Regions from separate parts of the Homo sapiens genome. Here region 2 is linked to region 1. Evidence: promoter capture Hi-C in human tissues and cell types (Jung and others, 2019). All regions are on one chromosome and are shown on one strand. Each heading gives the region's core, a stretch centred on a gene start or on the middle of the fragment in contact. The rest is flanking DNA. Distances are from core to core; before and after follow the strand shown. Region 1 holds the start of FAM50B (family with sequence similarity 50 member B). Region 2 has its middle 40 kb from the start of FAM50B.

Region 1 (7,858 bases), core at 843-3,342:
GAGGGGGGCTGCTCCCCAACCTTTGCTAGCCCCCTCCTGCTGGCAACTGCTGATCCTGGGACCAGTGATGGGCAGGTCCACCTTTGCCCTCAAATGGTTCTGAACTAGGTCATTGCAGTCCTTTAAATAAATTAACCAAAACCATAATAATAACAACAGAAACATTTATTAAGAGCTAAGCGTTTTACAAATATTAATTCACTTAATACTCACATCAATCTTATAAAGTAAGTGCTCTTGTTATTTCCTTTTACAGGTGACCAAACTGAGGCATGGGGGTTTAATAAGCTTACCCAAAACTACACAGCAAGGAGGAGGCTGTGTCGGGAATCAAACTCAGTCACTGTGGCCCCCAAGTCCATGCTCATAACCACCAGGTAAAAAATGTGCCTCCTATTCTAATTTCTGTCTGACAGTGGGCCCAGTCATGGTTTCAATACAGCTCAGCAGAGCAATGCAGCAAATCCAGGTGGCAACACTAAAATACTCAGAAAAGACCAACCAAGCAACCAAAGCATAACATCAGCAATAGCACAACCAATGTGAATCATGAGAACCCTCTGTCTTTATTAAATTTGGGGGAAGAAATCAAGGTCACGAAATCAAGTGACTGGTGATGGGGCCTAGAAATGAGTGTCTCCCCCCACCCCCGGTTTCCGCTCTGGCAGGCGGGTGTTAGCGGATGGTGTACTTGTCCCACTTCTTCTCGGGGTCATAGGCCTCCCAGCGGCTGGCGGGGAAGATGTGCTTGTTCTTCTCGTACCAGCTGCGCAGCACCACCTTGCCCGCGTGCGACTCGTCCTTCTCCATGGTGGCGTCGCTGAGCAGGCGCACGTCATCGTGCACATCGAAGCTGAAGAGCGGCCCGCTCTTGCCCCTCGCCCTGGCGATGATGAAGTCGTAGAAGGTGTGGTAGTGCGGCAGGATGAGGTCCTCCTTGATGAACATGAGCTGCTCCACGCCGGCGGAGCGCAGCTCCAGGAAGTCCTTGCGCAGCCCCTGCAGCGCCTTCTTCAGGAACTGCTGCACCGTGTTGCCCTTGCGCACCCGCACCGTGCGCCGGTGGCCCGAGCCGTCCCAGTAGCTGAAGGTGACCTCCATCTCCTCGTCCTTCACTTTCTCGCGCTGCGCCTCCCACTCTTGGCGCAGCTCCTCTCGGAGCCGGTTCTCCTCCTCCTCGCGGTCGCGGTCTGGCAGGAAGCTGGTGTCCACGTCGGGGTTCTTGCCCAGGTTTCCGGCGCGCCTGGCCTCGGCCGCGTCGGCCTGGTCATCGAGGTCGTCTAGTGCAAAGGACAGGCAGGAGATCTTACGCTTGCGCTCGCGCCGCTGCTCCTGCTCCCGCTGCCGCTCCTGCTGCAGCCGCTGCTCCTCCAGGTGCTGGCGCTTGGCCAGCTGCCGCTCGCGCTCCCTGACCAGGGCCTCCTGCCGGGCCTTCATGTCGTTCAGGGTCACCAGGCCCACCGTGCTGGACTTCAGCTCGGCCTCCACGGCGTCGTAATGCGCCGAGAACCTCTTGTCCACCTGCGACTTGAGGATGGTCTCCTCGGCGATGCGCTGCTTCAGCACCTCCATCTGCTCCCGCTGCCTTTCGCGCTTCTTGAGGAGGTGCATGGCACGGCCTGCCTCGCGCATGGTGCCCTTGTACTGCGCCATGGCCCGCGCCTACCCGATGGGCTCTGCAGCAAAGAGGAAAAACGCGGCAGGTAGAGGGGGGCCCACGCAACGGCGGGGAATGCTCAGCTCTGCGCCTCCTCACAGGGCTTTCGGCAGTGATGGAAGCGTTCAGGGGCTGGGCCGACCTGCTAGGGTAACCACCAACCTGACAGTGTCACCAGGCACCAATTTCCAGCATTTTATTTGACCTCAATAAATGCAAATGCGAACGGCCCCACGTAACGGGTGGCTGCCATGCCTGAGCGCAGCGCTGAATTTGGGGAGCTGCATACAGAGAGGGTTGGGCTACTGAGCGGACCCTTACCTGCCCAAGCACCCTGTCGAGCGGAGACACGCGGGAGCTGACCTCCACGAGAACCACCCACGAGCAGAGGCCCACTCGCCCCGGGCTCTCGCGACAGCCGTGGACACAGGAAGTGGAGGCGGTGCGCCCCCTGGCGGGGAGGCGGGCCCTGAGGAGAGTGCCAGGCTCCTGGTAGGGCGGCTGCGGAAACAGGAAGTGGAGGTGGATCGCCCCCTGGCGGGGAGGCGGGCCCTGGGAAGAGCTCCGGGCTCCTGGTAGGGGCGGTGCTCCTGTGGGGCGGGCCAGCGCGGGGAGGATCCTGGAGGAGGCGCTTCTGGCCCTGCCCAGCCGTGGCTGGCCGGGGCTCCTGTTTTCACGCTGTGGGCAGGGCGGGCCCCCACCTGCTGTGCGTGCGTGCTGAGCCTTCTCGTGCCCAACTGTAAACACGCAGAAGCAATGTGGGCGCAGCGCAAGCTGCTGTGGCCACCCAGAGAGCCTTGCAACACGGCCCTGCTCTCCAACCCTCCTCCTCCCGCCTCTGATGCTACCCCGCTGTGGCGTCTCGTGAACATTACCTGCGCACCACTGCCTGTAATTCTTTCTTATGGCCCCAACACAACCATTCTTTGATAATAGAACCCTACTCGCCCCCCAGTTTCGTGACAAAACCTGCACTCAGCTTGTTTGACCTCTTCTATACAGCAGTTTCCCCCGGGTTCTAAGCTCTAATAACCATGGGACACTGAGTTAAAGTGTAGCAGTGTCTTTACTGTGAGCCTCTAACATGCCAGTTTCCACTGTAACTCTCCAAGAGCAGGGCAGACCAGTTCATGTTTCGTGACCGTTTCTCCCCTGCAGGAGATCTGGTAACACTCGCCGAAACCAGTGCTTCCTGGGACCTAGTTTGGAAAAGCTGGTTGTGAAATACATACTGCGGTTCAGCCTCCTCCCGCCTAAGAGCAACAATGCCTGTGAGCATAACCTTACCAAGAAGCGTGAATCATATGATAATTACATATGGCACCCACATATCCAGAGGAGAACAGCACGGTGTGAGCCCTCATCAAATTGTCCAAGCCAGAAACCTAGGCCTTTTCCTGGAATGACGTTCCTCCACAGGTAATCAATTACAGAAGAGCCTTTCACACTTTCCTTTTTCTCCCATTCCCCACCACTTGCCTTAATCTAGGAAATTAGCATTTTTTTTAATCTAAAGCCTTCTCATTGTTGCCCCATCACCAGAATACAAGAATATCTTATTTTATTGAGCTCTGGGATACTGTGTGTTTTGTTTTTGTTTTTACAAATTGAAGATTTGTGGCAACACAGCGTCAAGCGCCTACTGGCTCCATTTTTCCAGCAGCATGTGCTCACTTCGTGTTCCTGTGTCACATTTTGGTAATTCTTGCAATATTTCAGACTTTTTCATTGTGATATCTGCTATGGTGATCTGTGATCATCGTTCTGTGAGGTTATTGTAATTGTTTGGGGGCACTCCGAAGTGTGCAGTAGAAGACAAAGACGTTTATTGATTTAACTGATAAATGTTATGTATGTTCTGACTGCTCCACTGACTGGCTGTTCCTTCATCTCTCTTCCTGTCCCTAGGCTTCCCTAGTGCCTGAGACACAGCAATATTGAAATTAGGCCAATTAATAACCCTACAATGGCCTCTAAGTGTTCAAGTGAAAAGAAGTGTCACACGTCTCTCACTTTAAATCAAAGGCTAGAAATGATTCAGCTCAGTGAGGAAAGTATGTCAAAAGCCAGGATAGGCCAAAAGCTAGGCCTCTTTTGCCAAACAGTTAGCTAAGTTGTGAATGCAAAGGAAAAAAATCTTGAATGAAACTGAAAGCGCTTTCCTGGTAAACATATGAATGATAAGAAAGCAAAACAGCCTTATTGCTTATATGGAGAAAGTTCTAGTGGTCTGGATAGAAGATCAAACCAGCCACGACATTCCCTTAAACCAAAGCCTAATCCAGGGCAAGGCCCTAAGTCTCTTCAATTCTGTGAAGCTGAGAGAGGTGAGGAAGCTTCAGAAGAAAAGTCTGAAGGTAGCAGAGGTTGGTTCATGAGGCTGAGGAAGGAAGTCACCTCTATAACATAAAGTGCAAGGTGAAGCAGCAAGTGTGATGGAGAAGCTGCAGCAGGTTATCCAGAAGATCTAGCTAAGAGCACTGATGACGGAGGCTACCCTAAACAATACATTTTCAATGTAGACAAAATAGCCTTCTATTGGAAGAAGATGCCATTTAGGACTTTTATATCTAGAGAGGAGAAGTCAATGCCTGGCTTCATGGCTTCAAAGGACAGGTTGACTCTCTTGCTAGGGGCTAGTGTAGCTGGAGACTTTCAGTTGAAGCCAATGCTCACTTACCATTCTGAAAATCTTAGTGCCCTTAAAAATTATGCTAAATCTACTGTGCCTGTGCTCTGTAAATGGAACAACAAAACCTGGAGGACAGCACATCTGTTTACAGCATGGTTTACTGAATATTTTTAAGCCCAGTGTTGAGACTTACTGCTCTGATTATTCCTTTCAAGATATTATTACTCATTAACAATGCACTTGGTCACCTAAGAGCTTGATGGAGATGCTCAAGGAGATTAAAGTTGATTTCATGCTTGCTAACACAACATCCATTCTGCAACCCATAGATCAAGGAGTAATTTTGACTTTTAAGTCTTATTATTTAAGAAATACATTTCCAAAGGTTATAGCTGCTGTATGTAATGATTTCTCTGATGGATCTGGGCAAAGTAAATTGAAATTTTTCTGGAAGGCATTCACCACTGTAGGTGCCATGAAGGACATTCACAGTTTTTGGGAGGAGGTAAAATATCAACATTAACAGAAGTTTGGAAGAAGTTGATTCAAACAGCATTACATGTTACAAAGAAATCTTTCGTGAAAGGTAGAATCAATCAATGTGACAAACTCAATATTGATTTAAGAAACTGCCACAGGCCCAGCCTTTGGCAACCACCACCCTGATCAGTCAGCAACCATCAACACTGAGGCAAGACCCTCCACCAGCAAATAGAGCACAGCTCACTGAATGCTCAGAGGATCATTAGCATTATTTAGCAATTAAGTATTTTTAATGAAATTATGCACATTATTTTCTTAGACAAAATGCTACTGCACACTTACTAGACTATAGTATAGTATAAACATAACTTTTATATGCACTAGAAAATTTAAAAATTTGTGTGACTGTCTTTGTGGTGGTCTGGAACTGAACCCACAGTATCTCCGAGGTATGCCTGTATTCTTGTTCTTGTCTAACTTCTATACAATATCCTCAGAGATCTTCATAAAAAATGAATCTGATAACATTACTCTCCTACTTGAAAAACTCCAACTTCCCTTGTAACAGCCACATCAGAATCTCTTTGTTTGTCCTCTAAGGTCTCTAATAGGTGGACCCCTGCAGCATTCACCCAGCTTTTTCACTGCGCCTGAATAGAAGATGCCCTTTCAGGCCAGGCGCAGTGGCTCACACCTGTAATCCCAGCACTTTGGGAGGCCGAGGCGGGTGGATCACGAGGTCAAGAGATCGAGACCATCCTGGCCAACATGGTGAAACCCCGTCTCTAATAAAAATAAAAATAAAAAAAATTAGCTGGGTGTGGTGGTGCATGCCTTGTAGTCCCAGCTGCTCGGGAGGCTGAGGCAGAAGAATTGCTTCAACCCAGGAGATGGAGGTTGCAGTGAGCCAAGATCGCACCACTGCACTCCAGCCTGGTGACCCAGAAAGACTTCATCTAAAAAAAAAGTTGCCCTTTCATAACTGTTACCTCTGGACGTACTCTTTCTAGAAAGTCCTGCCCTTCGCTGTGCTATCCCTGAAGATCAGCACAAATGTCATCTCCAAGAGGAAGCCTGGAGCACCCACCATCACCATCACCACCCACAGATGGACAAAATTACCAATAGTCTCCTCTCTCAGGTTTCCCATATAATTACCTTTATTACACTTAACATAAATAAGATAGCCTCTCCACCTCTTTTTTTCAGTTAAATGATCCAACCAACTAAACTTTAATTCAATCGACTATCGTTTGGCCACAAATACTATATTCACTCTTTCTCTAATCGAATCAGAACTTGAATGTCAATATCATCCCTAAACCTTATCATCCACCCTCCCATTATCCAGCATCCACCTCCTGAACTCAGTCACGGCCTCCAAATACTATAGCCAGCTCCCAGAATTAAAAGGTTGAGCCTCAAATTCTCAGAAAAGTTTAACAAGAAAAACAACTAGAAAGAAGGAGATTTATCCTAAAAGTCTGATATACTGTTCTGTAGAATTTTCCCCTAAGTTCCAAGATGATAACTTCCTCTTTCAGCCTTAATTCTCAGCGAAAATACCCACAAAACTAAAAGCTACTGCTTTAAGCTCTTAAATTTTATCAGCAAAATGAGGCTGAGGACCCGAGCCCACGCAAATGGTGAAACTTTAAGAAAGAAGAATAAATAGAACAAAAAAGAATGATTGTTCTAGTTATTCTTCCCTGATTGAGACATTATGGTTTGTTTTTCCAATAGGTTTTGTCATAAAGGAGGAAATAGGCATATTACAGAAAAGTTTGAAAAGAAATGTAAATAAATAAAAAGTTCACTCAACATGAACACATAAGTAACATAACTATTAATGTTTGCAAGTTCCCTTCCAATATTTTATGTGCACATAGATCTGTATATATTTAGCAATTTTAATCAAACTTTGCATCCCATTTGATGACTTTTTTTCCATTTAAGTTTTTTTTTCTGTTTTTGTTTTTGAGACGGAGTCTGGCTCTGTCTTCCAGGCTGGAGTAGTGCAATGGTGCGATCTCGGCCCACTGCAACCTCCGCCGGCTGGGTTCAAGTGATTCTCCTGCCTCAGCCTCCCGAGTAGTTGGGATTACAGGCGCCCACCACCACGCCCGGCTAATTTTTGTATTTTTAGTAGAGACGGGGTTTTGCCATGTTGGTCAGGCTGGTCTCAAACTCCTGACCTCAGGTGATCTGCCCTCCTCGGCCTCCCAAAGTGCTGGGATTACAGGCGTGAGCCACCTCGCCCGGTATTATTCTTGTTTTTATATAATCATCATAGTCATTGATTTAAATAAATGTGGTACATTCTATTGTTAAAAAATAAATAAATAAATAAAAGTATCAATAGCAATAATACAACAGAGGAGAGGGAGCAGCATTCTGTTCTAGTGACTCAGAAATGCCGATTAAATACACAAACTAATTTAGAAAAAAATGTGCCCTCCTCCAGGCTTAGTCACAAAGTAAAATATGCAAACAGCATCAGTGTTTTAAAAATCTCACAAAACTAAAACTTAAACTATTTTAACAAGAGAAAAAGAACTTAGTTTTCAATACAAGCAACAATAACAGACCCCCGCAAATAACACCTTTTGTCATGGTCGGTTTTCATGTTGCTTTCCACCAGTCTGAATTCTATTTTAAACGGATTATCCTACAAGTGGCAGATATACTGTCCTCTCCAGAGTCAGCCTTGAAATGAAACAGCTGATGGTGGGCCTGGCCTGGGTGTAGGGCGTGCCCCGATAGCATCTCCACTCAATGATCCCTCCAACACCACCACAGTATCCTGAACCAGTTGTCAAAGCAAAGCCACAACACCTCACATCAACCAGGTGCCAAAAAAGAACTAGTGTATGAATTCAGAATTCCGCCACCAGACCAGAAGTCCTTCAAAGGATATCTAGATAATATTATTGCACGCTTTCGAATAAAGGGTTTAAAAATGTCTTCCAACCTTTGCTTGGTGGAAAGCCAATATTTTGGCATGCAATCAGGTAGGGGTAAGGGGAAGAACCCTCACATGTTCAGAGACAAGGAAGTACAAAATATACTAGAAGGGAAAAGCTTGA
Region 2 (7,858 bases), core at 3,912-6,411, 42 kb after region 1:
AATGCAGCAAACCTTTTACTTATTCATCTGTTGTAATTTAATGTTTTATATAGAAATATATCACGTGATTAAAAACCCAGATGTTCTAAAAGCTGTAACTTGAGAATTGCTCTTACCCGTTTCTTCCTCACTGCTGTTCTCTTACAGGTAATGACTTCTATGAGTTTCTTACATTTCCCTTTATTGAAGCACAAGCAAATACAAACACATGTTCTTGTTTCCCACCCTTTTGTACACAAAAGTGGCTTACTATGTGCAGCATTCTGTATGTTTTCTTGCTAGCTTACAGATGTATATTGAAGATGGCTCCATATTGGACCATTGGAATTCTTTACTCCTTTTTCTGTCATATGATGTCCATTAAGCTTATTTAGCTAGTTTAACGTGCTTGTTTATCTAGTCCCCTATTGATGGCTACTTGAGTCCAATGGAGCTAAATTCTATGTGCTCTATTCACTTACTGATGGCTGGAGGAAGGCAATGCTCACTATAGGAGAGGCACTATCTCTCTCTTTTTTTTTTTTTTTGGAGACAGGGTCTCGCTCTATCACCAGGCTGGAGTGCAGTGGCACAATCTCAGCTCACTGCAACCTCCACCTCCCAGGTTCAAGTGATTCTCCTGCCTCAGCCTCCCGAGTAGTTTGGATTATAGGCGTGCACCACCACACTCGGCTAATTTTTTTATATTTTTGGTAGAGACAGGGTTTCACCATGTTGGCCAGGTTGTCTCAAACTCCTGACCTCAAGTGATCCGCCTGCAGCCTCCCGAAGTGCTGGGATTACAGGCGTGAGCCACTGCATCCGGCCAAGGCACTATCTCTTTAATCCTCACAACAGCCCTGCAAGGTAGACGTTCGTTATGAACTGCATGTATCCCCCTAAAATTCACACATTGAAGCCCTAACCCCCAGTGCGATGGTGTTTGGAGACGGGGCCTTTGAGAGACAGTCAGGTTTAGATGAGGCATGCAGGCAGGGTTCCCATGATGGGATTTAGTGCTCTTATAACAATGGATACTGGAGAGTTTGCTCGCTCTCTCCCTGCTTCCCAGTCCGCCAATATGTGGGGGCACAGCAAGGATATGGCCACTTACAAGCCACAGAGAGGGCCCTCGCCAGAACCCAATGCTGGCAGCCCTGATCTCAGATTTCCGACCACCAGAACCCTGAGAATCTGCTAGCACCTTGACCTTGGGCTTCCCAGCCTCCAGCACAGTGAGAAATCACTTTTTGTTGTTTATAAGCCACCCAGTCCATGGTAATTTGTTATAGCAGCCCAATGCGCTAAAACACTGGCTGACTGCCCACAGTTGCAGTAAGTAGGGTGAGGCAGCATGGTGGGGTAGAAGGGAGGGCCAGAGTGGAGCACCCCACCAAGCGTCCTGCAGCTCCTGCATCATATGCAGGATGTGCTGAAGTTCCTGCCTGACCCATGGAGGAACCCAGAAAGTAGCCAGCTGGAGGGCTGGCACACATAGTGATGGCAGGGTGACCCTGCATCCCAAGGCATCACAAGGCTGCATTGTGGACAGCCTTGGCTAGGAGCCACATGGAGGGCACGGTAGCATGAAGAATGCCAGTGTCTGTTTTGTGCTCTAAAACAGAATACCTGAGACTGGGTAATTTATGAAAAACAGAACATTACTTCTTCATTCTCCTGGAGGCTAGGAAGTCCCAAATCAAGGCGGTGACATCTGGTGAGAGCCTTCTTGTGTGTCCTCACATGGGAGAAGGTGAAAGGGGAAGAGAGAGTGAACCCACTCCCACAAGCCCTTTTTAGAGCTACATTAATCCATCCATGAGTGTGGAGCCCTTGTGACACAACCACCTCCCAAAAGGCTGTAGCTTCCCACATTGCTGCACTGGGGATTAAGTTTCCAACACGGGAATTTAAAGGGACACGTTCAGACCATAGCAACCGGTGACAAGTCTGGTGTTGCCCCAGAGCATGGCAAAAGAGGGCAGCGGAAAAGTTGAGCTGGAGCAGGACGCAGAACACCCAGGGACTGTGAGTGGGCAGTGTTCACACCATGGAGGGCAGGCCACAGAGAAAGCTATGACTTGGGATGGAGGCAGAGGCGCCAGGGGCAGCAAGTGACACAGGAAAGCCCAGCAGTGGCAAAGGAGACCCCACGCAGATCCCGGGAAGGCTGAGGGAGAATGGGTCAAGCCATTGGGGAACAAGGTGTCCATCCTGGGAACCGTGATGGGAGCAAACTTCCTGGGAGCTCAGTTAATAGGGCTGAGAACTTAGGTGTAAGAAATACGGCAAGATTCAGCTACTAAACTCAGGGCCTGTTTTTGTTGTTGTTGTTGTTTGTTTGTTTGAGACGGAGTCTCACTCTGTCTCCCAGGCTGTAGTGCAGTAGCGCAATCTCAGCCCGTTGCTGCCTCTGCCTCCCAGGTTCAAGCAATTCTCCTGCCTCAGCCTCCCGGGTAGCTGGGATTACAGGCATGTGCCACCACACCTGGCTATTTTTTGTATTTTAGTAGAGACGGGGTTTTGCCATGTTGGCCAGGCTCATCTTGAACTCCTGACCTCAGGTAATCTGCCTGCCTTGGCCTCCCAAAGTGCTGGGATTACAGACGTGAGCCACCGTGCCCAAGGGCCTGGGCTTTGAATGAAGTCCCCTAGGCTGAGATCAAGACTATAAACACAGAGCTTGCAAGGAGGGGTTAAGGATAGCTGCGGCTGCGGCGGGCCGAGGAACATGGTGGGTGGGCAGTGTCGCCGAGAAGGCCTGCTTTTCTCTCCCCTGCCCCATGGCTATGTGTAGTTGGGGACTCCTGGCCACAGGGAGTCAAGCTGTAACCTTGACTAGGTGGCCTGGTGGAGTGCTCCAGTATCAGTTTTGGGAATGGGCATGTAGCAATGCACTGAAGCAGGCTGGACAGTCCAGGTGATGACCACACAGGTCGAGTCCATCCTCTAAATCTGCAGGTTCCACATCCTCAGATTTAACTGACCACGCATAAAAAATATTTGGGAAAAAAATTAAAATAACAATACAATAAAATTAATACAAACAAAAAAACACAGTATAACAATTATTTACACAGCATTTGTGTTGTCTTAAGTATTAGAAGTACTGTAGAGATGATTTAAAGTATACAGGAGAGCACTGTGGGAGGCCAAGGCAGGAGGATCACTTGAGGCCAGGAGTTCGAGAACAGCCTGGGCAACATAGCAAGATCCCATCTCCACAAAAAGTACACAAATTAGGCAAGCATGTTGCTGTGGGCCTGTAGTCACAGCTACTCAGAAGGCAGAGGGGGAAGGATTGCCTGAGCTCAGGAGATTGGGGCTACTGTGAGCTATGATCACACCACTGTACTCCAGCCCAGGGGATAGAGTGAAATCCTTCTCTAAAAAATAAAAATAATACATAAATAAATTAATTAAATAAATAAAGTATATAGGAGGATGTGCATAGGATGTATGTAAAGACTCTGTGATTTCATAAGCATCTTGAACACCCATAGTTTTGTATCTGCACGGAGTCCTGGAACCAATCCCCCTGGGATGCTGAGGGATGTCTGTATGTTCCCTCCAGCCATGCTGTACAGCTTGGGTAGCCTGAATAATCTCCCCTGTGACGCTACAGAACATTCCCTTAGCTCCCCAGGGTTGGAGAGGTTCTTCTCTACACCTCAGGGTCTCCCTGTGGCTGGCTGAGGAACCAGCCACTTCTTTGCAGACTGACAAGGGGCTTGTCCTGCAGGCAAAGAAGCCTATTATTTCTCTCTGCAGCTGTCCAGAGAGGCACACCCAGCTGGACACATGCTTCTCTGCTTAGTCACCAGTGGCCATACCCTAGCTTGGCACAGCTGGAGCCTCCAGGAGCCCAAACAGAAAACTCATCTGCAGACCGCACCAGCTTCACAGGCACCAGCTCGGGAGCTGAGAACTTGGCAAAAACAAGCACTGTAGTGAGTAACTGCAGCAAGCACGTGTGCACGCACACTCACGTACTCACACACACATGTGCACACCCAGACACACTCATGAAGCCATTCTGGTCAGCCCCAGATAGCATCATGCTGAACAGACACTGCCCCCTGCCCTGTCTGCTGAGCTCTTCCTCCTGCCAGAGCCCACTAGGCTGGCCTCCTCAATGCATTGCCAATCCTACAGCAGGTTCACTTGCTTTTTCATGAATCTACTAAATTGTTTGTCCTCTGGAGTTGTATTTTGACTTTGAAGCCATAATATGCAAGCAATACATTCTCCAAACACTATGAAAACGTGTTTGTATGTGGCTTGGTTCTAGTGTCTCTGCTCATGGACAAACTCTTCCGACTCACAGACTCTAAGCTGAAAGGGCTCAAAGAGTGATGTCCAACCTTTCTTTACCATAAAGAAGACTGGGTCCCAGATGTGTGGAAGGATGGCCTCTTCTATCCATTCCTTTGAAAATAATGAATCACTCTTTCTAACACAGGAAGACATTACTATAATCTGACCCAGCGACTGGGTTCTGACCCTTCACCCATTTCTGTTCAACTCCCTCAACCTTTTGGGAATTCCTGGCTCAGGCTGCCCACTCCCACTTGCTACTGGACATGTTTGTAATCAGCTTTCATCCGCCTCCCCCTCCCCACCCACCTGGGATCCTGCCATTGGCTTCCCTCTTGAAGCTTTCATTTATTCTACTTATAACTCCTAAGGAGATGCTGCGGCTTCCAGACTTTCTTATTATTGTAAAAAAATTGAGTAATTCTTACTTCATCATTTTGGCAAACTTTAGGATAATTTTATGGTAATTTCTTCCATTAAGATCTGTTCTTGCAAAGATGTATCTGCATGAGTGATGGCTCACCCCTGTAATCCCAGCACTTTGGGAGGCCGAGGTGGGTGGATCACCTGAGGTCAGGAGTTTGAGGCCAGCCTGGCCAACATGGTGAAACACCGTCTCTACTAAAAAATGCAAAAATTAGCTGGTCGTGGTGGTGTGCGCCTGTAGTCCCAGCTACTTAGGAGGCTGAGGCAGGAGAATTGGTTGAACCCAGGAGGCAGAGGTTGCAGTGAGCCGAGATTGCACTGCTGCACTCCAGCCTGGGTGACAAAGCAAGACTCTGTCTAAAAAAAAAAAAAAGTTCAAGTACTTTCTAATGGAAGTGTGTCCAGGCTGTGGGGTGGGGGAGACACAGGGGAGGAGGTGTGGGAGGAGGTGGCGGCTGTGTGGTAGGAGTTGGGGGGCAGAAGGAAGGCTCTTCTTGCCAAGGTACTATGAAGCCCAAAACACCGCTATTAAAATATGGGTATGAAGGCCTAGGCTTGACTTTGGTTCAAAGTTTTTTAGGAAGTAATTGTTTGAAATTCAAAAGCATTTTCTGTAGAAACAGTATCATAAATGGAAGATTAACTTTTCAAACAAACCCACAAAAATGTATTTAATCTTTTTACTAATTATCTTTTCACTACTATCTTTTTACTATTTAATTGCTAGCTGTGTCAAGTAGCGCTTTGACATCTGCCTCAGTTTCCTCATCTGAAAAGTGGGGACGCTGATATAGATGCCTGTCTCAGGGTTATTGGGAGGATGACATGGATTTATGTGTGTAAAGTTCTTCTCTTTTCTTTTTTTGAAATGGAGTCTCGCTCTGTCACCCAGGCTGGAGTACAGTGGCGAGATGTCAGCCCACTGCAATTTCTGTCTCCTGGGTTCAAGCAATTCTCCTGCCTCAGCCTCCTGAATAGCTGGGATTACAGGCAACTGCCACCATGCCCAGCTAATTTTTGCATTTTTAGTGGAGATGGGGTTTCAGCATGTTAGCCAGACTGGTCTCAAAATCCTGACCTCAGGTGATCCGCCCACCTCAGCCTCCCAAAGTGCTGGGATTACAGGCGTGAGCTACCGCACCCGGCCACGTATAAAGTTCTTAGAACAGTGGTAGGCCCATAATTAGGTTTACATTTATTGTTATTATTACTTGTCGCAAAACTCTAATATGCTTCAACCCCTGCTTTTAGAGCCCTGCTGAGTCTAAGGGGGGCTCAGAAGCCCCAGTGGGGTGGGACTCCCTTGGGAGGGTGAGATTCCAAGGTAGCCGCTGAGGCAGAGACGGCAGCCCAGGGGACACGAGATTGAACTGGCTGCTCCTGCCTGGAACGTTGGTCAGCTGCGTCTGTAGAGTGGAGTCTTCCTGAACTCCAGGGGAGGTTAGTCTTTGGGTCAGACACTTTAGACATGACAGAATGGAAGGGGGTGGGTGTCCTGAGACCTGGCACGGGCCATCGTGAGCAAGTGGGGGCCACTGGACAGGCTGTGAGACGCAGGGCTGTCCCCTGTGTGCCTTCCCAGGGATTGTCCCAGCCCTGCTTTTTCAAAGGCCTTGCTTGACACAGTGGGAAAGTTCTTTATCACTGCTGCGTTGGACTTTGTTGCCAACAGATTAACCCAAGGCCAACTAAGAATTACTGAGAACAAAGTCAAAGGCTTCCGAGTTCCCCAGGTCTCTCTTAGGGCCCTTGTCTTCTCTTTCCACTGCCTTTTGAGTTAAAGAACATAAAGGTGCTGGGCAGGAAGAAAGGAGACCACCTCCCAGAGGAGTGTGGTGTAGAGGAGGGGGATTCCAGACGAGGCTGGAGTTGGAAGACAGAGGGCATGGCCGGGAGGACGACCTCGGCTGCAGCGGTGGCTGTGGAGCCTCCTGGGCTCCTGTCTGCACCCCTGGTCCTGGCTTCACAAACAGCCCTTCTTACTTCTACAGATCATTTTCCTTTGAGCACTTGTCTGGCCCTTCCGTTTAGACTTCCCATTTTTAGCCTGTGTCCTCTTCACTATTATCTTAGGAGGTTTACAAAAGTGAGCACTGTATAATTATGTGTATGTTTATGTGTGATCTGAGTAATACTTTGTACTCTTCACACACACACAAGCTTCTCCTCTGTAATCTGCACATGTAGCAATTCATACTCGTAAACACAACTTCCATGACATCCCGGAAAGGGAGTTGGAGTCATTTCCGTTTTGAGTAGTAGGGGGCGAGGCCTCTGAGGTAAGGATTTTCCTCAAAATTCCTCCCTGAGACTCTAATTCACCCAAAAAGTATTCATTGAGCACTTACTGTGTGCCAGTCCCCACTCTAAGTGCTGGTGATACTGCCATGAACAAAGAGATGCAGTCCCCGATTTCATGGGACATGGCATTTTTTCTAATAAAGTGGCATTTCCTAATTATACAACATGATATTGGACCTTTTCTACACATCTGCGTCCAGCACTGTTAGTTTTTTTGTTTGCTGTAGTGGTTCATAAAAATCAGTGACTACGATTCATTATTTAGGCCAGGTGTGGTGACTCAGGCCTGTAATCCCAGTACTTTGGGAGGTCAAGGCAGGTGGATCACTTGAGGTCAGGAGTTCGAGACCAGCATGGCCAACATGGTGAAACCCTGTCTCTACCAAAAAATATAAAAAATTAGTTGGGCATGGTGGCACGCTCCTGTAATCTCAGCTACTCGGGAGGTTGAGGCAGGAGAAGTACTTGAACCTGGGAGGCGGAGGTTGCAGTGAGCCGAGATCATGCCATTGCACTCCAGCCTGGTCAACAGAGTGAGACTCCATCTCAAAAGAAAAAAAACAAAAAAACAAAAAAAAGATTTTAACAGATTCAATATTTAAAATAGAGGCTTCTCATTTCCTGTTACATCTAGCTTTCATCCATGCCTCCAAGTAAAACTGCCTTGCATTTGAGCAACCATTTATCATCACTGTAATGATTCAGATGTCTAACTTGGGGTAAGGCCAGAATAAAATTAAATGGGAGATCTGTTATAGATTGAACTGTATCCCCCTACAAGATATGTTGAAGTGCTAACCAATATGGGATGTTTGAGTTACATCAGTTTCTCAAT

The links. Contacts are between HindIII fragments. The study calls those that stand out against the background at their distance.
Region 2: a fragment that was not itself captured here is called in contact with the fragment with the promoter of FAM50B in region 1 in 2 of the 25 tissues and cell types used here (bladder and thymus).

The regions. Positions count from the first base shown.
Region 1 is chr6:3,843,607-3,851,464 of GRCh38, reverse strand. FAM50B (family with sequence similarity 50 member B) reads right to left here and starts at 2,092. Exons shown (of 2, transcript NM_012135.3): 1 at 1,979-2,092; 2 at 148-1,676. The coding sequence starts at 1,653. The coding sequence ends at 676. LOC107986557 (a long non-coding RNA gene) reads left to right here and starts at 2,099. Exons shown (of 3, transcript XR_001743931.2): 1 at 2,099-2,149; 2 at 2,816-3,076; 3 at 5,373-6,777. RefSeq lists an enhancer at 1,909-2,028 and a silencer at 2,299-2,418. The HindIII fragment of the contact is 6,203 bases long and covers 1-5,923 here.
Region 2 is chr6:3,805,015-3,812,872 of GRCh38, reverse strand. No RefSeq gene overlaps it. Among named protein-coding and RNA genes, the nearest start is that of FAM50B, 40 kb to the left of the region's middle. RefSeq lists enhancers at 2,106-2,606, 2,607-3,107. The HindIII fragment of the contact is 5,320 bases long and covers 2,502-7,821 here.